3 separate regions of the Homo sapiens genome follow, and regions 2 and 3 are each linked to region 1. Evidence: promoter capture Hi-C in 16 types of primary human blood cells and fetal thymus (Javierre and others, 2016). All regions are on one chromosome and are shown on one strand. The core of a region is centred on a gene start or on the middle of the fragment in contact, and the rest is flanking DNA. Distances in the headings are between cores, read along the strand shown. Region 1 holds the start of CENPC (centromere protein C). Region 2 overlaps UBA6 (ubiquitin like modifier activating enzyme 6). Region 3 overlaps CENPC (centromere protein C).

The links. The method cuts DNA at HindIII sites, captures the fragments that hold promoters and counts their contacts. A CHiCAGO score of 5 or more calls a contact.
Region 2: a fragment that was not itself captured here is called in contact with the fragment with the promoter of CENPC in region 1 in 13 of 17 cell types (total B cells, naive B cells, activated CD4 T cells and 10 more); the score reaches 16.6 in total B cells.
Region 3: a fragment that was not itself captured here is called in contact with the fragment with the promoter of CENPC in region 1 in 1 of 17 cell types (monocytes); the score reaches 5.1 in monocytes.

Annotation. Positions count from the first base shown.
Region 1 is chr4:67,543,754-67,547,758 of GRCh38, forward strand. It overlaps CENPC (centromere protein C), which reads right to left and starts at 1,750. Exons shown (of 19, transcript NM_001812.4): 1 at 1,585-1,750; 2 at 396-442. The coding sequence starts at 1,602. RefSeq lists enhancers at 1,505-1,744, 1,522-2,072 and a silencer at 1,895-2,034. The HindIII fragment of the contact is 5,245 bases long and covers 639-4,005 here.
Region 2 is chr4:67,634,712-67,638,716 of GRCh38, forward strand. UBA6 (ubiquitin like modifier activating enzyme 6) reads right to left here. Exons shown (of 33, transcript NM_018227.6): 20 at 742-847. It also overlaps the pseudogene LOC107986207. Among named protein-coding and RNA genes, the nearest start is that of UBA6, 64 kb to the right of the region's middle. RefSeq lists a silencer at 3,664-3,713. The HindIII fragment of the contact is 7,169 bases long and covers 1-4,005 here.
Region 3 is chr4:67,472,513-67,476,517 of GRCh38, forward strand. CENPC (centromere protein C) reads right to left here. Exons shown (of 19, transcript NM_001812.4): 18 at 2,376-2,466; 19 at 1-163. The coding sequence ends at 93. Among named protein-coding and RNA genes, the nearest start is that of CENPC, 71 kb to the right of the region's middle. The HindIII fragment of the contact is 7,822 bases long and covers 1-4,005 here.

The sequences.
Region 1 (4,005 bases), core at 500-2,999:
ACTAAAAGAAGAACCAAAACAACCCAAACAAGCACTCAACAAATGCACGACAGCATGTACTATTTTTCTTTTTGCCCCACTGAATAAGCTACATCTTTCTAATTTTACCATTTGATTCATTCTACAAAATGCTTTTCCCATGGCAGTCACTTAGTCAGAACTGAGACTCCCTCTTCCTGGTTCCACTATTTTATCAGGTGAATTTCTTTTTTCACAGCCACAAAGTCATTGCACTGCTTGCATTAACATTCCCGTTAGTATAAGATGACTACCCTTAATCAGTGGGCACAGAAATCATTATATTAGTCAGAGGTGATAGTTTTTCCTTTCTTCATTTAAAAATCTATTAACGATGAGAATAAAAATAATCTTAAAAGCTTAAGTACGTAAATCACCTGGAAGGTCGACAAAATCTTCTTCTGTAGCCATTTTTGAGATGATCCTGAAAGAAAAGTAAATCATCAATTTGGTTTCTTTAAGATAGAGTCGAGTAAAATTTATTTTCAAAGTAACTTCATCCAGTATGGGCATGCTATACACCAAACATCTCCTAAGGGCTCAAAACAATTTTGAGGTTATGTTATGACATAACATAGGTTATGACAGGCATTTAAAAACTGAACTGCAGGCATCTGGTAAGCTTTATTCCGCTTCTCTCCCCACAGTGAGAATGGCTTTATTGCTTTCTTCTGATTATATATAATGTAAACAATATATGTGCTCATAGTAAAAAGTATAGATTATATTATTCTTTCATACAACTCTTTATGTTTATATGTATAACGTCACATAATGGGAGATCATCGAAGCTGAAGATTTTCTTAGAAGGGGAGATAAATTAGAAAAGAAATGATACGGATTTTTATATAGTAACCATAACCAAAGTATGAAATATAGAATAGTGAACACCAAAGAAGTCCAGAAATATGTAAACAAAATGAGTTGTCGCCCCCATTAGTCATTCACAGCTTGTACCTTTTAACTGATAGCTGTCTTTCAGAAGAGTTTGTCAATAACATATGCTCCATAAATCAGCCTCAAGAACTGCATAAAAGGCCACCATTTTGACAGAAGAACTGAAAACGTCAAATTATTTCGAGACGTACTTGTTACATAATCTGTTTCTCCCAACTACCAAGTGTGACGCAAAGACACACTTTTAAGGCGTTTCAATACTTCTACCATGGGGAGAAAAGTTATTTGGAGGCCTAGGAACTGGAGCTAGACTAAAAAGCAGAAGCCAAGATCGCGCCACTGCACTCCAGCCTGGGGGACAGAGCAAGACCCCGTCTCAAAAACAAAAACAAAAAAAAACCCAGCAGAAATCACAAGCACCTCTCAAGAGTAAGACGTAGGCACAGACGAAATGACGACATGAAAACTTAAGAAATAATAAAAGTACAGTAAATTAACTCTGGTTATCGACACACGATCACACTTGATTTCAAAAATTCCTGCGGCTTTCCCACTGAAATCCCTCAGAGATCACAGCCTCAGCCTAGCATTTCCTTCTCCCCAGCCTCGGGCGCCCGTGCCCCAGCCAGCCGCTCAACCACTCGCCTGGAGCGGGGGGCCTGCACTTACCAGACCGGACGCAGCCATGTTCCGGCCCCGCTGAGCCAGCGCAACTGTCTGAGGTGGAAGCCCACACGGACCACAGCTCCAGGAAGCCGAGCAAGAAACGAATCGCCGGAATACCAGGCCGCGGCCAAGCAATAACCTTAAGTCTCAGGCGACTGCCGCGAGAGCTGCGATCCGGAAGGCGCGCGCTAACAACACTCCCCCGCCATTGGCTCCGCCCTCAACAAACAAGAACGCTTGGCCTGTGCCTGGGTTTGAACCCGGAGACACATGCGCAAAACGGGCCGCGCCGTCCAATAGGAAGCAAGCCGTTAGTGGGCTCGCCCCTTCATGCTCCAGGCCAACGGCCCTCCAGCCTGCAGACCCACCCGCCCGCCCTACCTCTAGCCGCTCTGCTCTTCCCACCTCCCTTCCTCAGCGCCGCGCCCGGGACAGGCGCGAGACTGGGCTTTTATTAGGAAGGCACGATCCTGGGAACCGCTCCTTGTGCCCAATGTAAAACTTCTCAACAGTTCTATTAAGGAATAATAAGTAATACTTGGAAGGATGAGAGGTAGAAATTGCAGACGACTTTTTTTTTAATAGAATCTTTTTTTGAAGAGATTTTTCTAATGCAGATTCGTCAGCCACGCCCAGCCCATCTAACCATCATCTCTGAAAATAATTGAATAATTATGTATAATAATGGTGATGATGGCTTGTATTCTTTTTCAAGTATGTGGGCGATATTTTTATGATGCATTGCCAACAAATGACCCACGTAAATATCTATCATTTAAGTATGATGCACTGAAAAGAATTCTATACAGAATCCTGAAACCTGCCAGCCATTGACTAGCTATGTTATGGAGGGCAAAATTGCGGCACCATTCTGGGTGTTTCCATAGTGATAGAATGGAAGTCTAAATTAGACGCTCTGAAGACTTCTCACCTGACCAGTGTATGATTCTATGAAGCTGTATCTTATTTTATTATTTAATTTAAAATTACAAGAAAATTCTAATCAGAAAATAGTTTACTAATTGAATAAATACATTAATCAGGAGTTGAGCTAATAGATTTTTAAAACATGTAGTGCTTTAACAAATGCTGTCAACTATGAAGGCCAATTTTTTTATTTTATTTATTTTTTTGATAGAAAAAAAGGAACTATGATCTCTGACTGAAATTAGGCCTGGATTGCACTCCATTCCATTAATTCTGCCATTATGGGCAACTAAGTTATCTGTTCCTTAATTCTCTTGTCTGCAAAATGAGAATACTATTAAAGTGGTTGAGATGTTGTAATTGAATAATTCCTGTTAAGATCTAAGCACAATGTTTGGAACATAGTAAGAATTCAATAATAAAGCTATTGGAATCATTATGGAGAGTTTTTTACTATGTTTGGCAGTTTTGCCAATCAGTCCAACTTATAATTTGGTGCTGTCACATTTGGAATAGATAATGATAAACACTAACATTTATTGACTGCATACTCTATGCCCAGTTCTGAAATGCTTTGCATGCATTGAAGAGAACAATTAATATTCCTGTTTTATAAACAAGGGCACTGAAACACAGAGAGCTAAGTGTCTTACCCAAGATCACATCACCACTAAATGGTAGGATGGGTTATTATCCCAAGAATTCTCACTCCACAACTGAGCTCTTAATCACTACACTCTTTGCCTCTGGGTAAGAAATTTTAGCAAGCACGATTATAGATGTAAAGTCCCACATGTAAAATTATATCCTCCTGCTTCCACTGGAAACTAAGTCCCACACTTATTTTGAGAAATTTGGAATGCAATGGCTTGTGCTGCTGCAGAAAGCAGGCCACAGAGGGCGTTGAGGATTAACTGTTCTAAAGAAAATAGAGCAGTACTCTTATAAAAACAGTTGTGGAGACTCCACAGTTTCCAGAGAAACGTTTTACTTCCATATGTACTTGTTGTAGTACTTAATAGCCCACCATGGTTTTAGTATCCTAAAATAGGATTGCTAATTAATGGGGGGAGTAATATTTATTTAAAAACCCAAGTTTGTCGTTATAAATCTCCCCCCAAAATACATCAAAGATTACTTCTTATGAACTGCTAGGACAATCTTGAAGTTTTCTTTCACAACTACTTACCTAGTTAAGGGGTGTGTGTGCATGTGTGTATTTACATATCAGTATATGGAAGTATTAACATATACATAATTAGATGTGTATATGGGAACATAAAGTATCCAGAAATTTGGCTTGAAAGAGAAGTAAAAAAAACTTTTCGTTACTTATGGTTTTAGGTACATAATTTAAAATTTGTAAATCTTGAAACTATTTCAAAGAATATTTTGTTTTAGATCTTTGATTTCCATCAAATAACTATGGTATGGGTATTTACTACCAAAGTGTCTTCCATTAAGTGTTAGCACAAAAATATTCACAACTGAACTAAC
Region 2 (4,005 bases), core at 860-3,359, 91 kb after region 1:
GCTATGTAATGCCAAACATGAATCTTATTTATTATTTGTGTACTCATTTAAAGCACCATGTAGTACTCATGACACACCATCATCTATAAATCATTTTTTTCCTCATGAATCAAGGTGACATTTAAAGTTTTATAACACTGCCCCGCTTTGAAAAGTAATTCAGGAATACCCAGTATAGTGCTCAGAAAAGCATGAGTTTTTCCATGGAGAAAAACATCTGGGAGCAGAAATATGTCCTCAATGCTTGAGGTTTCTTGCAGAAAGCATGTATTAAATAAATGGTAAATACCTAAGTCGTTTTTTGTGGATAAAGTACCATTGAAGAAATCCACATTCTATTATAGAGTACATTTTGCCTAGGTTTATTGGTTTACCTAATCTAAAATGACTCACTTTGTCTCAGCAAGTGAATAAAATTTTATGTCTTTGTTGACAGTTCTAGTCTCAATCTAATAGTTTGTTCTTATCAAACAATCTTAAACTCAAAGGGTATTAGAAAACTAAGCAGCTCTGAGAAATAAATAGTAAACAGAAGAATAATGCTCCAGAAACACCAGACACAAAATTCTGATAATTAAAAAAAAGTTCAATTATATTTTAAAAAATGTACATGCACATATGTATGAACATCATTGGCAGAGCAAAATCAGAAGGATTAGGAAAGCTAAATCAAATTGTTGATTAAGACAAAAATTACAAGATATAAAAAAGACATCTATTTCAAAATATTGATTCACTTACATGACTATTGTAAGACTCAGTCAAATGCGGTACAATAACTTCAGTGTGTCCCTTAGTGCCCATTGTTCCAGAATCTAAAAGAGGCCTTAGATTTGCTAAGCAACGACTATTTGAAAAGACAGCAAGTAAAAAACAAAAAAGTGAGCAATAACAATGTAACCAAAGGACAACCTACAACTTTCTATTGACCATTTCACATACTGATCACTTCTTGAATGCAGTATTTTAGGAAAACAGATATACTACTATCAAACAGTGGATCATTCCTGTTCCCCTATTCTGCAATATACATATACATCTAGTAGTACCCTAAATCTGGGGCTTTCTTAACCTTTATCTCTAGGTTAATTCCTAACAATATTACTCCTTTTCCCTTGCTTTATATTTCTTCTTTGGTTATTTTCTAACTACAAGTTCTACCACACTATCTCTTCTCAATATTTTCTTTATCCCAAATAATATTAATCTTCTTTCTCAACACTTACAATACCTATATTCTACAAATTTTTATTTTTTAAAGTTTTATTTTCTTCCCCTCTTTGGCCCAAGATTACATACTTTTCACATTTTTCAACTGATAAATTCTCCCCTGTTAATATATCTGCTCTACACCCTAACATTGAGGAGTCATATAAAGATGTAAGGTGAACACATTTATAGTCATTCATTCATCTACTTATTTAAGGAATATTTACTAAATGACATCATATGTTGGGCACTGAGGATACAATGACGGAAAGTAAATGGTCCCTGGATGAATGATTTAGTGAGGACACAAACATTAAATAAATATGCATATCAGTAAAAATGAGTGCCATGAAGGAAAAAGTACATAGTGTTATGAAAATCACCATAGGAGGATTTAATTTAGAATTTGGGGGAAAAGAAAGTCTGTTTTGATAAAGAAATTTAGGTCCCTCTCCCTCTCCTGCTCCCGCTCCCCACGGTCTCCCTCTCCCTCTCTTTCCATGGTCTCCCTCTGATGCCGAGCCGAAGCTGGACTGTACTGCTGCCATCTCAGCTCACTGCAACCTCCCTGCCTGATTCTCCTGCCTCAGCCTGCCTAGTGCCTGCGATTGCAGGCGCGCACCGCCACGCCTGACTGGTTTTCATATTTTTTTGGTGGAGACGGGGTTTTGCAGTGTTGGCCGGGCTGGTCTCCAGCTCCTAACAGTGAGTGATCTGCCAGCCTCGGCCTCCCGAAGTGCTGGGATTGCAGACAGAGTCTCCTTCATTCAGTGCTCAATGTTGCCCAGGCTGGAGTGCAGTGGCGTGATCTCGGCTAGCTACAACCTCCACCCCCCAGCCGCCTGCCTTGGCCTCCCAAAGTGCCGAGATTGCAGCCTCTGCCCGGCCGCCACCCCGTCTGGGAAGTGAGGAGCGTCTCTGCCTGGCCGCCCATCGTCTGGGATGTGAGGAGCCCCTCTGCCCGGCTGCCCAGTCTGGGAAGTGAGGAGCGCCTCTTCCCGGCCGCCATCCCGTCTAGGAAGTGAGGAGTGTCTCTGCCCAGCAGCCCATTGTCTGAGATGTGGGGAGCGCCTCTGCCCCACCGCCCCATCTGGGATGTGAGGAGCGCCTCTGCCCGGCCGCGACCCTGTCTGGGAGGTGAGGAGCGTCTCTGCCCTGCCGCCCCGTCTGAGAAGTGAGGAGCCCCTCCGCCCAGCAGCCACCCCGTCTGGGAAGTGAGGAGCGTCTCCGCCCGGCAGCCGCCCCGTCCGGGAGGTGGGGGGGCAGCCCCCACCCGGCCAGCCGCCCCGTCCGGGAGGGAGGTGGGGGGCAGCACCCGTCTGGCCAGCCGCCCAGCCCTGGAGGGAGGTGGAGGGCAGCCCCTGCCCGGCCAGCCGCCCCGTCCGGGAGGGAGGTGGGGGCCAGCCCCCACCTGGCCAGCTGCCCCGTCCGGGAGGTGGGGGCGCCTCTGCCCAGCCACCCCTTCTGGGAAGTGAGGAGCCCCTCTGCCCGGCTGCCACCCCGTCTGGGAGGTGTACCCAACAGCTCATTGAGAACGGGCCATGATGACGATGGCGGTTTTGTAGAATAGAAAAGGGGGAAATGTGGGGAAAAGATAGAGAAATCAGATTGTTGCTGTGTCTGTGTAGAAAGAAGTAGACATACGAGACTCCATTTTGTTCTGTACTAAGAAAAATTCTTCTGCCTTGGGATGCTGTTGATCTAATCTATGACCTTAGCCCCAACCCGGTGCTCTCTGAAACGTGTGCTGTGTCCACTCAGGGTTAAATGGATTAAGGGCGGTGCAAGATGTGCTTTGTTAAACAGATGCCTGAAGGCAGCATGCTCGTCAAGAGTCATCACCACTCCCTAATCTCAAGTACCCAGGGACACAAACACTGCGGTAGGCCACAGGGTCCTCTGCCTAGGAAAACCAGAGACCTTTGTTCACTTGTTTATCTGCTGACCTTCCCTCCACTATTGTCCTATGACCCTGCCAAATCCCCCTATGCGAGAAACACCCAAGAATGATCAATATAAATAAATAAATAAATAAATAAATAAATAAAAAGAAATTTAGGCTGAAACTGAAAGGATGAAGAAAAAAAGCTAAACTAGATGAAGAGTAGATAGGTAGATTAGAGATCAGGAATGTTAAAGCAAGAAAAACAGAACTTCCTGAGGCTGAAGAATACTGTGTGCAAGTCTCTAAGGTAAAAAAGTGCTGAAGGCCTGGTAAGGAAAAGGCACAGACAGAAGGAGGGGTGGCAGGTCAGAGCTGCTGCGGGTAACCAGCATGAGCTTGCCTGGTAGAAGAACATGAAAAAACAGAAGAATATGCAAACAGTTAAGGGAAAGTGCCAAGAAGACAGACTTTCTGCTGCTGCCCACAAGCAGAGGGACCTGAAGACCATGCAGCTGAAGCAGAAAAGGGAAAACGAGAAGGAAGAACCTAAGTAGCTTTGTGGTTTGGTGTCCACCCCCGTGCCCTTCGCCTCTGTGCCTGAAGCCAGTCCCACCATGCTCACGTTTCCTCCTCTAGTACTCACAGGACCCAGGACTGATGGCATTCCCTTTGCCCTGAGTTTGCAGTGGGTCCTTTTTGTGCTTCCTTCTCAGGTAGCCTTTCTCTCCTGGGGCATTTCTGGGGGTGAAGGAGTTACTCCTTCTATGTTTTCTATTGCAGTGGGACTCACCCCAAAGTATTAAAAATAGCTTTACAATTCAGAAAAAACAAAAGACAGCCAAAAAACTGAAAGGCACATACAGCTAGAATAAGGGGAGCCAAGGAAGACTGGTAAATGTTACTCTGGCATG
Region 3 (4,005 bases), core at 779-3,278, 71 kb before region 1:
CACAAGTAATTACAAAGACAAATATTCCAACTATACAAACTGTTTTTCACATATACATATATACATACATATATTTAAGGTTGGTTGATCTTTCATCTTTTTATCTGAGTAAAAAGAAGAACACTTTCCTCATTCCGGAGATTTTTGATGTTATAATAGTTACCTAAAAGTAAAGTGATAAGAAAATAAAAATTATTTACATATGAATCATTCTTTTTGATTAAGTATGTAGTCATCACCTGACAGTTGTAGTATAGGACACAAGATAAAAACAATTCACCTAACCTAAAGTAACTTATTTAATTCCATGAACTACATCAACAGCTAACCATGACACGTGATCCAGATGAGGCTTGAGAGAACAGAAATATAAATTTCACATCGTTATGAAAATAAATACGGAGATGAATCAGTCGAGAGTGTAAGAAAAGAAAATCTCTTTCTGAAACCAATCTTTATTAGGTCTACAGAACTGCTGTGGATTCCTCTAACCAGACATACTCATATATAGATGAATATAAAAGGTACAATGTTAAGTAGAATAAAATCTCAAAATTTTATTTATTTACTTATTTTTTGTTTTTGTTTTTTCTTTTTCTGGAGAACGGGGTCTCGCTATATTGCCCAGGCAGGTCTCGAACTCCTGGGCTCAAGCTATCCTCCCGCCTCTTGCCTCCCTGAGAGCTGGGATTACAGGCATGAGCCACCGCGCCCGGCCAAAATCTCAAAATTTTAAAAAGGCAAATGCTACTCTTAAATAAATGAGGTAACAAATAACAGCAAAAGTGAAATACAGATGGACCGCAAGTATCACATGTGACAGGCTTATTAGAATTGAGTACTATCACTGTGACTTTCTATATATTAGAAATTGAGAAAGTATTCACAACAGTGCTGACATACTAAGGATTATGCAAGTATGGCTATTATTATTGTCTCCTTCCAACAGAATGTAAGCTCTATAAAAGCAGGGATTTTTGCCTGTTTTTTCATTTATATATCCCAAATCTTGCAGCAATACATGGACATAGTAGACACTTTGTTTTGTTTTTGTTTTTGAGACAGAGTCTTGCTCTGTCACCCAGGCTGGAGTGCAGTAGTACAATCACAGCTCACCGCAACTTTGAACTCCTGGGCTCATGCAGTCCTCCTGTCCCAGCCTCCCGAGAGCTAGGACTATAGGTGTGTATCACCGTGCCTGGTTAACTTTTGCATTTTTTGTAGACACAGGGTCTTCCTAGGTTGCCCAGGCTGGTCCCGAACTCCTCACCTCAAGCCCTCCTCAGCCTCTCAAAATGTTGGGATTACAGGTGTGAGCCACTGCACCTGGCCCATAGTAGTCTCTTAATCATACTTGTTGAATGAGTGAATGAATGACAAGTGGATTAAAATGCCTATTTACAATAACTTCTGCTGTTCGATAGCTGATGAAGCATACCATTCTTGAAACAGTTTAAAATAATGTTCTAAAAACATAATTTCTTAGAGATAACATGGGGTAAATAATTTTTGTTCTCCTCTGTAATACAACATATCTGCTGACTATATACATAAATGTATTTTTTTTTTTGAGACCGAGTCTCACTCTGTCCCCTAGGCTGGAGTGCAGTGGTGCAGTCTCTGGTCACTGCAAGCTCCACCTCCCAGGTTCATGCCATTCTCCTGCCTCAGCCTCCAGAGTAGCTGGGACCACAGGTGTCCGCCACCACGCCCAGCTAATTTTTTTGTATTTTTAGTAGAGATGGGGTTTCACTGTGTTAGCCAGGATGGTCTCGATCTCCTGTCCTTGTGATTTGCCCACTTTGGCCTCCTAAAGTGCTGGTATTACAGGCATGAGCCACCATGCCCAGCCAATATTTTCATATTCAGTAGTAAACAACTCTTGTTCTCATGTATCAAAACACTAATTGGTTGGGCACTGTGGCTCACACCTGTAATCATAGCACTTTGGAGGCCAAGGTGGGCAGATCACTTGAGGTCAGGTGATCTGTTACGGCTAACATAGCAAAATCCCGCCTCTACTAAAAATACAAAAAGTAGCCGGATGTGGTGGTTCGTGCCTGTAGTCCCAGCTACTCGAGAGTCTGAGGCACAAGAATCGCTTGAACCCAGGAGGTGGAGGCTACAGTGAGCTGAGATCGTGCCACTGCACTCCAGCCTGGGTGACAGAGCAAGACTCTGTCTCAAAAACAAAAAAAAACCACCACAAAATGCTAATACACTTACCTAATGATCAAATGAAAGGAAAATATGTACCAAACTGTTCTGACATCCATCAGTCATATCACACTTCATTTTGACCACTGTGGCTTCCATTTCCATAGTGCCCAAAAACAACTATATACATGTTGTCTAAGTGAAATAAATTGTCTTACCTGAAGGAACATAGAACGAATCCCCAGTACTTAATATATAAGGTGTTTCATGTAAAGTACACAAAAGGTCACCAAAGTTAACATAAAAAACCTGTAAAAATAAAAATAAAAATCTCATTCAAAACTGAACCATGATAATACTTCAAAGGAACCTTAAAATGTAGTGGGAAGAATAACGACTCCCCACAAATGTGCTGGCTTTAATCTCCAGAACTTGTAAATACATTAAATTTCATGGCAAAAGGGACCTTGAGATGGGGAGATTATCTTTGATAATGTAGGTAGGCCCAATCTAATCACATTAAGCCCTTAAAAATAGAGTACTTTCTCCTGCTGGAAGCAGAGAAGAAACGAAAGAGAAGGAACAGTCACAGAAATTTGAAGCATGAAAGGGACTTGCACCGTTGCTGGCACTAAAGATGTGGGGCCATATGCCAAGAAACATGAGTTATTTCTAAAATCTAAGAATGACACCCTGGCCAACAGCCAGTGAGGAAATGGGAACCTCAGTCCCACAACCACTTAAAACTGAGTTCTGCCAACAGTCTGAACGAGACTGGAAGCAGACTGGAAGCAGATTCGTCCTTACAGCCTCCAGAAAGAAATACAAACCTGTCAACATCTTGATTCCAGTCTTGTAATACTCTAAAGAGAATACCTGGTCAAGCTCATGGTTCTCTCTACATAACTGTGAGATAGATAATACAAGAGTATTGTTTCTTGTTTTTTGAGATGGAGTCTCACTCTGTCATCCAGGCTGGAGTACAGTGAGGCGATCTCGGCTCACTGCAAGCTCCGCCTCCAGGGTTCATGCCATTCTCCAGCCTCAGCCTCCTGAGTAGCTGGGACTACAGGCGCCCGCCATCGCGCCTGGCTAATTTTTTTTTGTATTTTTAGTAGAGACGGGGTTTCACCATGGTCTCGATCTCCTGACCTGGTGATCTGCCCGCCTCGGCCTCCCAAAGTGCTGGGATTACAGGTGTGAGCCACCGCGCCCAGCCCAAGAGTATTAAGCCATTAAATTTGTGATACAGTCATGCACTGCCTAACGATGTTTCAGTCAACAGCAAACTGCCTACATGATAGTGGTCCTATAAGGTTACAATGGCATTTAAAAAATCGTATTGCCTAGTGACCTCACAGCCATCATGATGTCCCAGTGAAAAGCATTACTCACATGTTTGTGGTGATGCTGATGTAAATAAATCTACTGAACTGCCAGTCACATAAAAGTATAGCACATACAGGAAAAAGTGGAGGATAGAAAGTAGGACTAACTTGCAGCTCCCACTCAGATGGACAGAACAGCATGTGGAAACTCACATCATGAACTTTTTTGCCAGAAGAACTACTGCAGGAACATACCAAGAAAACTGAAAGAATTCACAGACTCTTTGAAAGAAATGGCTTGCTGCTGCAAACTCCATGAGACAGCTGAACAACCGTGAGTGCCCAAAGTGTGAAAGGGGGGAAAGTCTGCCTCCAAACACATCCTTACTGGGGAAGCTGAAAATCCAGGTCATGAGAGAAGGATTTAACCTTACCTAGAGCTGAAACGAATTGAGAGAGCCAAGGGAAATATAATAGTAGAAGCAGAGGCAGGAAGAGCCCTGTTAAGTACTCCTGGTTT